Linked DNA regions of Homo sapiens: all the other regions are linked to region 4. Evidence: promoter capture Hi-C in 16 types of primary human blood cells and fetal thymus (Javierre and others, 2016). All regions are on one chromosome and are shown on one strand. The core of a region is centred on a gene start or on the middle of the fragment in contact, and the rest is flanking DNA. Distances in the headings are between cores, read along the strand shown.

Region 1 (3,337 bases), core at 660-3,159, 1.3 Mb after region 4:
TAAATGGGTGGATGGATGAATTATGTGGTAATTTGGTGTGTGGATGGATGGATGGTTGAATGGATGGATGGGTAGGTGGATGAATTATGTGGTTTGGTGGGTGGATGGATGGATGGATGGATGAGTGGGTAGATGGATGGAAGGTTAGATGGGTGGATGGAGGAATGGATGGATGGATAGATGGATGGCTGGTTGGATGAATGGACTGGTAGGTGAATGCATGAATGGATGGATTTTTTAAAAAGGAAGTCAAGGGTAGATTCACTTCTGATGTACTCTAGGCCTCTTTCCTCAAGTATCAAGTAAGGCAGGTCAATTTAATTATCTCTAAGACCACTCCATGCTTTGTCATTTCATATTTTTATGGTCTCATGATTCTAAGCTGCCCAGGACCCAGGGCTGATTTATGGGGCAAAAGAAGTAAGTGTCAAAGTATCTGTCACCACTTAGCACCAAGGAGGTAAGATTCCTTAAAAAAAAAAAATCAGATAGAGCAAAAGAGTACTGTCTTCTGAGACCGCAAAGAGGCTGATGGCACTTCTATTCATGCACCCAAAGGTTCTAGGGCCTGAAGTGGCCCCCCACCCTCTCTAGCCCCCCTGTGAAGAAAGATGCTGGTTTGGGGCAGCACAACACCTGCAGAGATGCTAACGCTGTTCTCCTGCCCTCACATAAAAAATGCCAGTCCCAGTCAACAAGGAAAGATCCTGACACTTTTATCAGCATTAGAAGCAGTTCCCCAAAGGTTGATGCTCAGTGAAGCCCCAGGATCCATGATCTCAGAGGTACTTACAGAAATTTTCACCAAGTGGAGCAAACATAATTTTAAAATAAATAAATAACATGTCATTATACCCTAAAATGATTTCTAGGTAATCCTTAAACACAGCCTTTAAACTATATATTTAGCAAAAAGGAGATGGAACTAAAATGGTTTGAGTGCTGTGTAGTTTGGGTCTTCCAGAAACAGATACCAAGATGGGATTAGACACCTGAGGGATTTCTTGGGAGACACGGTCTGGAAGGGGCCAAGAAGGTGGGAGAACCCTCAAGCTATGGTGCAGGTCTGGCCCTGTGAAGGTCAGAGGGAAGGAGGAGGAGGAAAGGAAGGAAGCTTGTCTAGACACTGCAGCACAGCTCCAAGAAAGTTCTAGCAAGGCTCAGGGAGAGTCCTTGAGCCACAACTGTCTGTCAGAGAAATCCCACATCTCTCTGGAATGGGCCTGTCTTCGCATCCCTGTAGGGCCCAGTCACCACCTGGGAGCAGCTGTGGTAAGTGTGACCTCCAAGCAAACCCACTAGTGGATCCAAAGGACCAGTAGATGGGCTCATCCTCCACCCGGGAAGCACACTTTCACAGCTGCCATGAGTACTCTGTATGGGGCCAGAGACTTCCTAAATGTCTCCTTCAATCCTCACCTATTGCTGTTGCACATTGGTATTACTAGCCCATTTTGCAGATGAAGAAACTACATTTCAGAAAAGTTAAAGTACTCAGGGATTGTAAATGACCAAGCCAGGACTTAACTCTCTATAACTGGCTCCCAAGGCCCTGCTCATCACATCCCAGTCTCCCTGGTCACCAGAGCCCTGTACTGAGAAGAGGAGTCTGGGGTTAGCTTTTGAGAGATGGCAGAGTGAGGTCAGAGTGTTGAATGTAGGGAGCAAGAAGCAGAGGAAATGAAGAGAAATGCTCTCTGGGTTAGAGGATGGAGGTGACACATTGACCAGCAGATGCGGGCAGCTCAAGCATCCCCACCTCACAGCCGTCTTGGGTGAAGCCTCTTGCCCTCTCCTGATTCAATACTTAAATAAGGACCATCCAGGCATCGTGAGAACCATGGCAGGGAGAGGTGCTCATATGTGGTTCCTGGGATGAGAAGGAACGCAAGCTCTAAATCTGTGCTGTTTGCAAACTAGAGAAGGCGGCTGGCCTTCTGAGGATAGCCTTTTTCCTGGGCTACAGCCTGCCCGAGGGCCAAATTTCCTTCCCTGGTCTTGCAATGATGGATGGAAGGACACTGTGCACTCAGTTGTCCCTCCATGATGATCAGATGGTAAACACGGCTGCTGAGCAGTGTGGTCTTGCTCTCCCTGCTCTCACCAGCCTATGCTCGCAAAGGCAGAGAATTGCTCTTTAGATTTAGGGGAAGTGGGAAAGGCAGGAAGAAGGAAGAGCTGTTCGCTTCCTCCATCCATGCAGAGAGAGATGTTCACATGGAGGCCATGACATCAAATTGTGAATGCCACACATTTTCAGGGGATTAATTGACCTCAATTTAGGAGCAATAAGATTCTTCAGACTGAAGCAACTTGAAAGGCACTTTTACAGGTACCTGTAGAAATTTTTAATGGAACAATCAATGAGCTGTGATTCTTGCCACATTTGCTGTCACACTGCCTCCAAGGATTAAACCTTGGGGTGACCAGCCACCCCCGCAACTCTAATGAGATGGGAAAGAGCCAAAAAAGAGACCTTTCAACCCAAGCCCTGCTCTGCATCACAGGCAGCTTTTATCTCCATAATTAGAGGGCTCGTCATGCTTTTAAATAAACTACTGGAGCCCAGGCTGGGCACTCAGAGGGGAGCTGACTGTGGGGAGTCAACAGTGGGGAGTGTGGAGGAGTGGGATCTCACAGCCTGTCCCTGGGACGGTGGGAAGTGAGGTATCCTGGGAAACAGAGGCCTTCCACAGAAGCTTCTTTCCAGATAGGGAAAGGTGTGTGGACTTCGGCAAGTCACTGATTTTGTGGACATTACGGGAAATTACTGCATTTTTCATTTATCCTTAAATGTAAACAAGTAACATGGAGGTTCCAGATGCATTTTTTTTTTCCTTTTAGGAGACAAAACCAGAACTCTTTAAATCCTCTTTCTTAAACATAGGAATAGATATTCAAATTCGATTACACTGAGATTGGGAGAAAAATGCAGAGTTGGGTAACTCACTCTTTGGTGGAGGCTGTGGGACTCTTGTGTACCGCCAGTGAGCATGTGAATTGGCACAACCCCTGCAGAAAGAAACAGAGTGATCATTAACAAAACTACAAATCCACATGCCCTCTGACCCAGTCATTCATCTTCTGGGAATTTGTGCTGCCGAGACACTTTTAAGATGACATGTGTGTGAGATAATTCATGGCAGCTTTGCTGGTGATGGCAAATACTTGGAAACAAACCTAGATGTCCATCAAGAAAGGATTAGTTAAATAAAGCATGCTAGATTCAAACAACTACTATGCGGCTTTAAAAAGGAATGAGGAAGCTCTCTGTGTACTGATGGGGACAGAAGTTCCAGGACATTTTGTAAGGTGGCTGAAAAACAAGGTACAGAAT
Region 2 (3,183 bases), core at 475-2,974, 1.0 Mb after region 4:
GGAGTGCACTGGCGCGATCTCGGCTCACTGCAACCTCCACCTCCTGGGTTCAAGCAATTCTCCTGCCTCAGCTTCCTGAGTAGCCGGGATTACGGGCACCCGCCACCACACCCCACTAGCTTTTGTACTTTTAGTAGAGATGGGATCTCACCATGTTGGCTGGGCTGGTCTCGAATTCCTGACCTCAGATGATCCGCCCGCCTCAGCCTCCCAAAGTGCTGGGATTACAGGCCTGAGCTACAGCGCCCAGCCTCTGCCTTATTATTTTATTGCAGTTTACAAAGATCTATATGCACTTGTTTCTTATCTCTAAATGGTGGAAATGCTCTAACATAGAGTGTTGCTGTGAGAGGAACTATAGTGATCAGCAGTGATTGCTGAAATCTGCACATGTTATAAGTCAAAGCTGTTTATCCTGAAGAGCTGGTTGTTAAATGTTCCCCAGCTCCTGCTGGTTTAGGGATAGGAGATTACTGATACCAGACACCCTTCAGGCACTCCTGCGGGGCGCAGGCTAGAAAACCAGCGGACTCCATCAAGAGTAAGACCGAGAAGGAACCTCTCTTTACCACCCAGCCTATCTCTCAACATGCCCTTGCCTGCACACACCTGGTGCAGACGCTTCCACCCTCTTTCGTCTGTTCAAAGGTAAGCCACATTCCTTTGCCCGGTGCTGCTGGTAAACCACGGAACCGCCAATCAGCTCCTTCAAGACTATTGTCTACACCCGCTCTCAGCTACATGTTAGCCCGTGTTCAGTCTGGAGGGGACAATGATCCCCAGCAAACTGCTTCTGAAGCTGGAGTTGACTGTTTCACAATATAAACACATGTATTTCACATTGATATGTGTCTTGGGGATCATTCTCGCCTGCTCCTGGAGTTCTTGCCAGCCTCTTAAATGGGAACTCCTACCCTTTTGGAAGCATTGAGAGAAGAGCTCTGAGCTTCTATCTGCCTCTGCCTTCTTCCGCCTTATGAGAGGAGAGGCACATCCAATGGGAGAGATTGAGAGAGGCCTTCTGGGGACAGCCTGCCTGATATGGTGCATTCTCCTCTGCCTCTGTCTCCCTGGATGAGGCCTGAGGCAGGGCCCGCTCCCACCCCAGCTATGTCCTGATCTCAGGGCTCAGCAGAGATGAGGTCAGCGCAGGCCCCTGTGGCTGGCTGGGTAGGTCCCTGCAGGTACTTCTCATGCTCTGGAAGAAACCCCAGATGGGCTCTTTCTCCAACTCAACTCTACAAGCAAAATGCTGGTATTTACTTCTTCATTTGATTTCAGGGGTTTATTTCTCAGTTGCTTCAGAGCTTGACATGGGGAAGATAGTAATGTTTAGCTCAGTGTATTTATATATTATGTGTATGTGCACACGCATAGTGCTCATAGTGTATTTAAGTGACTATGTTTGGAGCTTCTATCATTATTGCTTATTCCACAAATAGCACACAGAAACATTTTCCCTGATAGAGAAAAAAATCAGCACCTAGAAAGTTAAGACCATTTATTTAGTTAGTTCATAAACACTTAGACAGTGCTCGCTCGCTATGTGCCAGGAATTGTTCTAGGTGCTTTGCAGATAATAACTCATGTAATCCTCAGAACAATCTTTACATAGTAGATACAGCTATTCACCCCATTTTGCGGATGGGAAACTGAGAAACAGATTGGTGTGCAGGGTTACAGGGCCTGACTCAGACTGACTCAGACTTTCTGGCTCCATGGTTCAATTTTACTTTGCCAGTCATGGGGAATGAGCATACTCCAAAACCTAGGGACAGAGTATCCCTGGTGGACACTGCCAAGATGGAATTTTCTCTTGAGAAAAGACTAAAGCTAAACATGTTATTGTCTCCCCAAAGTCATTACCCAAGTGCCTCAGCCAGCCAGCCTGAAGGTAAGTGGAGATGATGGGAAGCCCCAGATTCTTTGTGGGGACCTCATTCCCCTTCTCAAAGCTACTGACAAGGACTTAGGTCAGAACGTTCCATAAGTCCCCATAGAAGCAAAGTGTACTTTTAAAGGTTGTAAATACATTTTATAAATGAGACACTATTTAAAGGCATTAAACAAGCAACAGACTTCATTTATTTAGTTATTTGGGGGTTTTCTAATCAAGATTCTCACTTGCACATCAGCCTAGACCACAGAGAATCAGTCCTGGCTTAAATCTAAAACTGAGATGGATGATGGGGCAAGAGGAGGAAGTCGATGCAGCAGCCAGGTGACGTTGGCAGCTTCCTCTTCCCCATCCTCGAGGGGACAGTGACTAAGAGAGTACCTGGACCAATGTTTGTGGGTGCTCATGGAAATTCCTTTGCATAAGCCAAACTCTTTCGGGTCTCATTGCCTTCTACTTTATCCTCCCAGATCTCACCTCTGCTTGCTTTGCCTTCTCAATAAAAAGCCTTAGGAACATCCCCAAAGGCCTCAGACATTAGAACTAATTACATCTGTCTTCAGGAGCCACTTTCTCCATGAGGGTGATCAAACCCAAACACAGAAGCACTGTGTTTTCTACCCGTGGGTCACAGCAGCCCAGGATTCATCTCTGCTCCATTAAAAGCATGATGCTATGATGAAAAATGCTCAAGGGATCATTCTTTTGTTTATTACCAGGTCCTCTGGAAAGTAAGGTCGGGGAGGAACTAATGAAAACTTTCTATAGAGAAGGGGAACAGTTGTGCTATTTTGGTTAAAAAAAAAATCTAATTGCAACTCTTAAAGATTTAGAAAATAATACTTTTTCAGTTTTTTTATTGCTATATATACAGTATTAAATCATTTTGACTTGTTTTGCTGTTTTCCATATTTGAAATATCTGGAATTGGGAAACCCTAAGACCCAAGATGAATCCTGGTCCGCCTAAGACTATGTAAACAGCCCATTATCTGCTTCCCCGATACCAAGTTTGTCATGAAATTGACAGCTTCCTGATAAGGGCTTTCTATTTCTATAACCAAGCAGCCCTTCGCTAGAATCTTCTGGGGTCAGGAGAAAGTTGAAGCCGCGTGCACTGATCAGTGCACGATTTTCCCAGTGAGTAGCTGTGTGCAAAGGGCAATGCTAATTGTCCCCTTGTTCTGGCGATGGACTTGGCTTCGGCAGGTTTGGGTTTATGATTAACTAGGCAGAAGGCTGATTGTGGTTGTCGATCCCTTCCCTGGAAGGTTGTTTGCATAGGTC
Region 3 (3,366 bases), core at 208-2,707, 1.2 Mb after region 4:
TATGAATTTTCTTTAAAATAGATTACAATAACCCTACTTGCTTATTTTGAGCCCCAACCTGTTCTCCCCCTACTCCTTCCCTCCCATGGAACACCTTTATTTTTTACAGTATGAGAGATACATGTTTTTTACTACTAAGAAAACCTTAAGTTTGCTGTGTGTTTTGCTGTACTTACAGAATTAGCCTAAAAAGCTGTTTTGATGACTTAGGATGTATTTGGTAATACCATGGTGTTATAGCTTGTTCAGGCCCTGGTACACCAGAGTCCAAAGACGTAAACGTGCCTTCAGCAGGGAAGTTCGGAGGTCTTGGATTCTGATGGTAATATTCTTTTCATAAAAAGGAAATAAGTAATATTTTTGTCGGCAAGATCACAGTCCCTAGCTATGCCTTAAATATCATCTCAGCTGAATTCTGTGTTCCACTCCACAGCCTTCTTTGCAACACTGGAAGGTTAACGGATTTGAAGTAAATGAATTGTAACTGTAATTTCAACCTAATTAGAATTGGTTTAAAATGCCAGTTTGGACCGTGAACAGGCTAGCCAAGAACAGTATTGGGAGGTCCATGTAATATAGAAGAGAGTTGATATTTGGCCCAACTTCCTGATACTTTAAAAACAGAGAAGTAAAACAAAATATGAGATATCTTTGGCCAGCAAGTCCCTTCTTGCCTGTTTGGTCTGTGTTAAAATGTAAATGTTTGTGTTTCCTTACCTATTGTTTATAGCTTTTCATTCCAGTTGTTTCTTTTTTCTGTTTGAAGTTAGATATTTTTACATTCTCTCCATATTGCCCATCAGTGACAAAACCTGTATCAAATTAGCACGCATGTTAGTTTTGAATTAAAAAGAAACTTTTTAAACCTGGCTTAAGTATGCTTGTTAACAATTGGACGATATACAGTATTAATGAATTGCCCTGGATTTACTAGTTCCCCTTTACCCACCCGCCTCCACCAAAAAAAAACCCTCAGAGATCAATACAAGGCCAAGTGAATGATATGTAGGTGCCCAAATATGGTTGATTCTGCTGCATTTAAAAAAAAAGAGGAGTGGGAGTTAAACTTCTAATTTTTTTCTTCTTAAGTTCCAACATCAACAGCCTTTTCTTATTTAGCCTCCATGATAATTTTATTCTATGTTTGTTTCGACTTGGCGAAGGTCTCCTGAATTTGCCAAATTACCAATGAGGATAGTATTGGAAAGATGAGAGAGGCACAGGCTTGGAGCACTGTGAGGGGAACAGCAGTAGGAGGCAGATAATTCAGAATACATTCCTGTAGTTATAAAAGAAGATTTATTTATTTTCACCTTTTTACAGATCCAGACCCAACAATGAGTTATTCAGTTTGAAACCCACGTAGTGGAGGCAGTCTCTGTATACCTGCTGAATGTTGAGTTACAATAGAGAAGCCTGGGTTACCACAGGGAGAGGAGGATGAGGAAGTAAAAATATGTGTTCAAAGAGGGCATTTCAACACTGTGAGCTAACTTTACAACGGGAAGTGAAAATCATGAAAAAAAGGGGAAAATTTGTTGTGAGAGACTAAAAAGAGCAAAATAAAGCAAGCCCATTTTTCGGGAATAGAAAAAAAAAAAAAACAGTAGCAATAACCAAATAACTGATCAGGGAGATTTATTTCCGTGATATCTTTTTAAAACAAAAAGGGAATTGTCGTATCACTGCTCTTAATTAAATGGCAACAAACACACTTATAATGGGAACTAAATAGCTAATTAGAGGGTGCTTGGGGAATAAATAGCAGAGTTTTAAAATCTCCTATATGGAAAACATGTCCAACAATTGGAATGAAAGGATTAAAAAGAGAGAAAAGGCCCAGACCTTGTTTGGCAGTGCAAGTTGGATAAAATAGAGGAAAATGCCTCCCTGCTTCTATGAGACTAGATTATCCTGGTGTAGTCTTGGGGTTGGAAGTATGTTCATCTCTCATAGTGAGTTAGTTCGTGTTCTGTGCCACAAGGACTGAAGCAGTTCTAATGAATAAAAACAATAGATAGTCATCTGGAGGCCACAGGGAAAGGGTGATGGCTAAGCAGATCATGAAAATGGGAATCTTGAGAAACATGACTTCGATATCATACAAGTGAGTCTATGGCAGCCTTTTTTACATATAGAAAAAGAGGCCTGAAAATATATACTACAAAAAATTATGTAGCAGTTATTAAGGTAAAAATTGGGAAGTAGGAGGCAGAGGAAGGAGTGATAACACTAGATTAAGGAATGCTTTACTGTTACCAATTCAAAAACAGCAACCAAAAATGATGATGTAATTGGAATGAGTAATATAAATGTCACTACTGACTTTACCGTAAAGAATGTCAGAAATGATCAGAATAAATACAGCTTGGGGCATTTCGATTTGAAGTTGTATGACTGCTTTGAAAAATAGAAACAAAGGAAATACAGCCAATAGTAAATGTCTAGACCAAGAAAATAGTTTCTAGAAGGCCTAAATGATAGCCAAGAAATTGATGCTATTGTACAAAGTATCTTTAGGTCATGCTTTTCAGAGTATTTTACTTTGGAATTCATTTTCTTAATTACCTGAGTATAAAAACATTTATCTACCAGTTTTCTCCAATAGCCCTGATAAGACTTCATACTTACTCAGTTACATTAAATAAATTCCTGGTCAAGATCAGCTGGGCTAGCAGAAAACCTCAGGCATCTGTGAGGACATGAGTTTACACACGCTGAGACTCACAGATACAAAAATGCAACCCAATTCCACCCCTGAATTGAGGGGAGTGCATAGAAGTGAATGTCCCGTCTTTCTGAGGTCTGTTGATTTTGTAATTAGTAAACGAAGGGTGCATTTCTGATTTTTTTTTCTTGTGTGCTAGAATTCATTGCTAGTAAAACTCAAGATAATAGCGATGAGTAGGAGGTATCAAAGATGAACTGTAGAGGGACAGTTTAAGTTACTTAAGAATCGTCAGCAAGATGAAATCTACTTTTAGCAGAAATTGGGTTTTTTTGTGTTTTTTTGTTTTGTTTTATTTTCTAAAAGTAAAGTCTGCACCTTGTTCAGCCTGTTAGTGGAGGTCTGAGCAAGTAAAAGATGGGTTGGATTATAAACTTACAAACACAGGATGTTCTGTTTCTCAAACGGGAGAAATTAAGAAGAGATGCTTGTATTCAGGAGACGGCATAGCTACTCAAAATCCTTGATATCTTGCTATGGTTAGTCTTGTTCCAACTGTGCTATGTGACCTACTATGGCTTTATGAGGTAAATTTAGTATATGTGTCACTATTTGAAAATTTACATATAGTTATACATAATGTATTAGGTTGGTGCAAATGTAACTGCAGTTTTTGGAGTTAAAAATTGCAAACACTG
Region 4 (3,118 bases), core at 392-2,891:
ATGATTATGAGGGGTGGGGCATGGTGACCTGCAGGATCCTGGTGGGTGGGTGGTGGGGTCTGTGTCCCAAACGACTTAGGGAAAAGGATAGGGATCCTCTGGAAATATCTTAGATTGTGGGGAAAGGCATCAGGAAGAGATGGAAAGGCAGCAAGACAACCATGTGGTTGGGAGCTTAAGGAGTGTTTCAGACAGGTGACAGGTATTAGAAGGGCCTAATGAACTGGTGGTAGTAAAGCCTCCACCAGCCTGAATAAGATCTCTCTGAAAGAGCAGAGAAAGGGTACAGGATGGACTCCCACGCAGAGGGGAATGGAGCAAATAAAGAGCATCTCTCAGGAGACGTTTGAGCTAAGACCTGAAGGATGAGAGTCAGCCAGGTGTGCAAAGACCAGTGCGACAGGGAGGACGAATGGCCATGGGAGTGGGAGAAGTGAGGACAAAGTCCTGAGGCAAAATGGCACATATCAGCTGGCAGGAGAAAAAGCACAGAGGTCAGTGCACGTGCAGCATGGAGAGGAAGCAGGAGCCTGCAGGAGAAATCCCAGGCAAGCAGGGGCCAAATCAAGCCCCAAAGAGAAGGTGCGCTGTTTCCCATCAGACTCACCTTGGGGTTTTATTAGAGGGAGTAATTCTGTGCACACATCTCGGGTACCAAAGAAATTTGTTTTCATCGTCACTTCAGCTTGAATATGAAAGGGTGTGGGATCAGCAACTTTTAGGAGAGAAAGAGAACATAGTTAATACATTGTACCCATGGGGTAAAATTCTATACAATGATACTAAAAAAAAAAAAAAAAAAAAAAAAAAACTTAGTGCCCTCTGCCTAAAGTAAGTCTGTATCTGGTTACAGTATTGTGCCAATGTCAATCTCCTGGTTTGATCATGTTCTAGTATTTTTGTAAGATGGCACCATTGGGGGAAGGAGGATGAAGGGTGCACACACTGGATCTTGGCATAACCATTTTTTCTTTTTGCAATTTGTCGTTTATTTTAAAATCAGTTCAAAATCCATCCAGTTGCCTTAAAGCTCAATTCAGAAAAACTGCAGAAAACCTGAAAAAGATCCCCAAGAGTCCCAGCCAGGGAAACACAAAGTTCCCTTTGGCTGGAAAACTCTCACTTTCTCCAAGGTTTCTGCACTCCCTGCATCTCCTAGCTCCTCCCTCTCCTCCCTAGGGAGGCGTTATGGACCCCGCAGACGCCAGGAGCCCCAGTGCATCGGTTCTTCTTCGGGGAGGCCACGTCCCCTCCCCATACCCTTGAAGGCGATGCCCGCGTTGTTGACCAGCACGTCCAGGCCCCCGTACTCCTTGCGCAGGAAGTCGCGCAGGGCGCGGATGCTCTGCAGATCGTCGATGTCCAGCTGGTGGAAGCGCGGGCTCAGGCCCTCCGCCTGCAGCTGCTGTACGGCCGCCTGGCCCCGCGTCACGTCCCGCGCCGTGAGCACCACGTCCCCCGAGAACAGCCGGCACAGGTCGCGCACGATGGCCAAGCCGATGCCCTTGTTGCCTCCAGTCACCAGCGCTACATGGATGCCGGACGACATGGCTGAACGGGGCGCGCGGAACACCTGCGTGGAGAACAGACCTGGCTCAGGCCCGGGAGCCCCGCAGCGTGTTCCAGAGACTGCTCGAGTCTGGCGGTCGTGGGCGCGCACCCGTGGGTTACACGCCCGGCCGCTGAGCGCGCAGGCGCAGGCCCCGCCCTAGCGGGGCGGGGCTGAACCATCCCTACCCCTCCCCACCGGAACCTCGCCGGGGTGCGGAGCAGGCGGAGAGCCAGCTAGCCTGACTTTGCAGAACCCGCAGGCCGAAGACCGAGGCTGGTCTCTAGCTACTGGCTGTTGGCTGCCCACGTGGCAGTGAAGAACCATTCCTAGTGGCCATGTGCCTAGATCTGAACTCACTGCTTGCCCTTGGTTCTCTGAGGGGTTTTCTTCATATTCTCCCAGCTGTTCAATCATTCCTAGTTGTGTTTGAAGAAATAGTACATTTGCATGGTTTTTTTTTCTTTTTTTCCTGGTGTTCTAAAAAAAAAAATACTGCAGGAACTGCAGTCTTTGGAGCTAGAGTTGCAGAAGAAACTGGAAGGAAATAACAGGGCATCAAGTTTTTGTTGATTTTCCCCCTAAGTATATGAAAACAAAGCTACTGACTTAGCCAGATTTTCCAATAATGGTGGGAAACATTCACTAAATCTTTATAAGGTTACTTCTCTGGGCATTTGCAGGGCCATCAGTTTATCTGTGCATAGGTGTAGGGGGTTTCACAGCCCTATTTTACACGGACAATAACACTCTAGGATGTACCTTTTAATCCCCATCTTAAAATGAAGAAACAGGGATCCATCCTCAGAATTTATAACTTAGTTCAGTGGTGGGAAATTGTTAGAGAAATGCCAGGAGTTTGGTCTAGGTCTGGTGGTTCACAGCACAGAAAGCCAGTCACTGAGACCCCATTATTGTCAGGGAAGAAGGCATTATTTGGGTGCTACAGCCTAGGGGGGAGAGATCAGTCTCAAATCCATCTTCTCAACTGATTAAAATTAGGATATAGCAGGGAAGAAATGTAACTGCATGTGGGAAAATAGCAGGAGTTAGGGAGAGATGAAGAGGAGTGGGTCAACAGGCATCAGGCAATTGTTGCAGGTGAGGGGTCTGGTGTCTGATTTTCCAGATGTGGTGATCCGATAAGTTTCAGTTCCTTGGTGCTATCTGGGAGGACTGATGGCTAGTTCCCTGAGAAAGGAACTCAGATAAGACAAATGTAAATTTCTCAAGTTTTTAGACTGGGAGGGTCAATTTGTTTATTCAAAAGAGACCAGGCCTGGCGCGGTGGCTCACGCCTGTAATCTCAGCACTTTGGGAGGCTGAGGTGGGTGGATCATGAGGTCAGGAGTTCAAGACCAGCCTGGCCAAGATGGTGAAACCCCATCTCTACTAAAAAAAAAAAAAAAAAAAAAAAATACAAAAATTAGCTGGGTGTGGTGGCAGGCGCCTGTAATCCCAGCTACTTGGGAGGCTGAAGCAGAGAATTGCTTGCTTGAACCCCAGAGGCGGAGGTTGCAGCGAGCCGAGATCATGCCACTGCACTCCAGCCTGGGCAACAGAGTGACT

What was found. Contacts are between HindIII fragments. The CHiCAGO score rates a contact against its expected background, and 5 or more counts as called.
Region 1: a fragment that was not itself captured here is called in contact with the fragment with the promoter of CBR1 in region 4 in 1 of 17 cell types (endothelial precursors); the score reaches 5.0 in endothelial precursors.
Region 2: a fragment that was not itself captured here is called in contact with the fragment with the promoter of CBR1 in region 4 in 1 of 17 cell types (neutrophils); the score reaches 7.2 in neutrophils.
Region 3: a fragment that was not itself captured here is called in contact with the fragment with the promoter of CBR1 in region 4 in 1 of 17 cell types (neutrophils); the score reaches 8.9 in neutrophils.

The regions. Positions count from the first base shown.
Region 1 is chr21:34,737,101-34,740,437 of GRCh38, reverse strand. LOC107985515 (a long non-coding RNA gene) reads right to left here. Exons shown (of 3, transcript XR_001755016.1): 2 at 2,951-3,012. It overlaps LINC00160 (long intergenic non-protein coding RNA 160), which reads left to right and starts at 3,256. Exons shown (of 6, transcript NR_024351.2): 1 at 3,256-3,328. The HindIII fragment of the contact is 1,585 bases long and covers 1,117-2,701 here.
Region 2 is chr21:35,019,682-35,022,864 of GRCh38, reverse strand. All of the region lies in intron 2 of RUNX1 (RUNX family transcription factor 1), which reads left to right. Among named protein-coding and RNA genes, the nearest start is that of RUNX1-IT1, 18 kb to the left of the region's middle. The HindIII fragment of the contact is 7,607 bases long and covers 1-3,183 here.
Region 3 is chr21:34,880,929-34,884,294 of GRCh38, reverse strand. The region is part of intron 4 of RUNX1 (RUNX family transcription factor 1); the gene reads left to right. It overlaps RUNX1-AS1 (RUNX1 antisense RNA 1), which reads right to left. Exons shown (of 2, transcript NR_186614.1): 2 at 1-812. Among named protein-coding and RNA genes, the nearest start is that of RUNX1-AS1, 46 kb to the right of the region's middle. RefSeq lists a silencer at 1,323-1,372. The HindIII fragment of the contact is 5,547 bases long and covers 1-3,366 here.
Region 4 is chr21:36,068,547-36,071,664 of GRCh38, reverse strand. CBR1 (carbonyl reductase 1) reads right to left here and starts at 1,641. Exons shown (of 3, transcript NM_001757.4): 1 at 1,261-1,641; 2 at 608-715. The coding sequence starts at 1,549. CBR1-AS1 (CBR1 antisense RNA 1) reads left to right here. Exons shown (of 4, transcript NR_040084.1): 4 at 1,180-2,023. RefSeq lists an enhancer at 1,336-1,585. The HindIII fragment of the contact is 9,155 bases long and covers 1-3,118 here.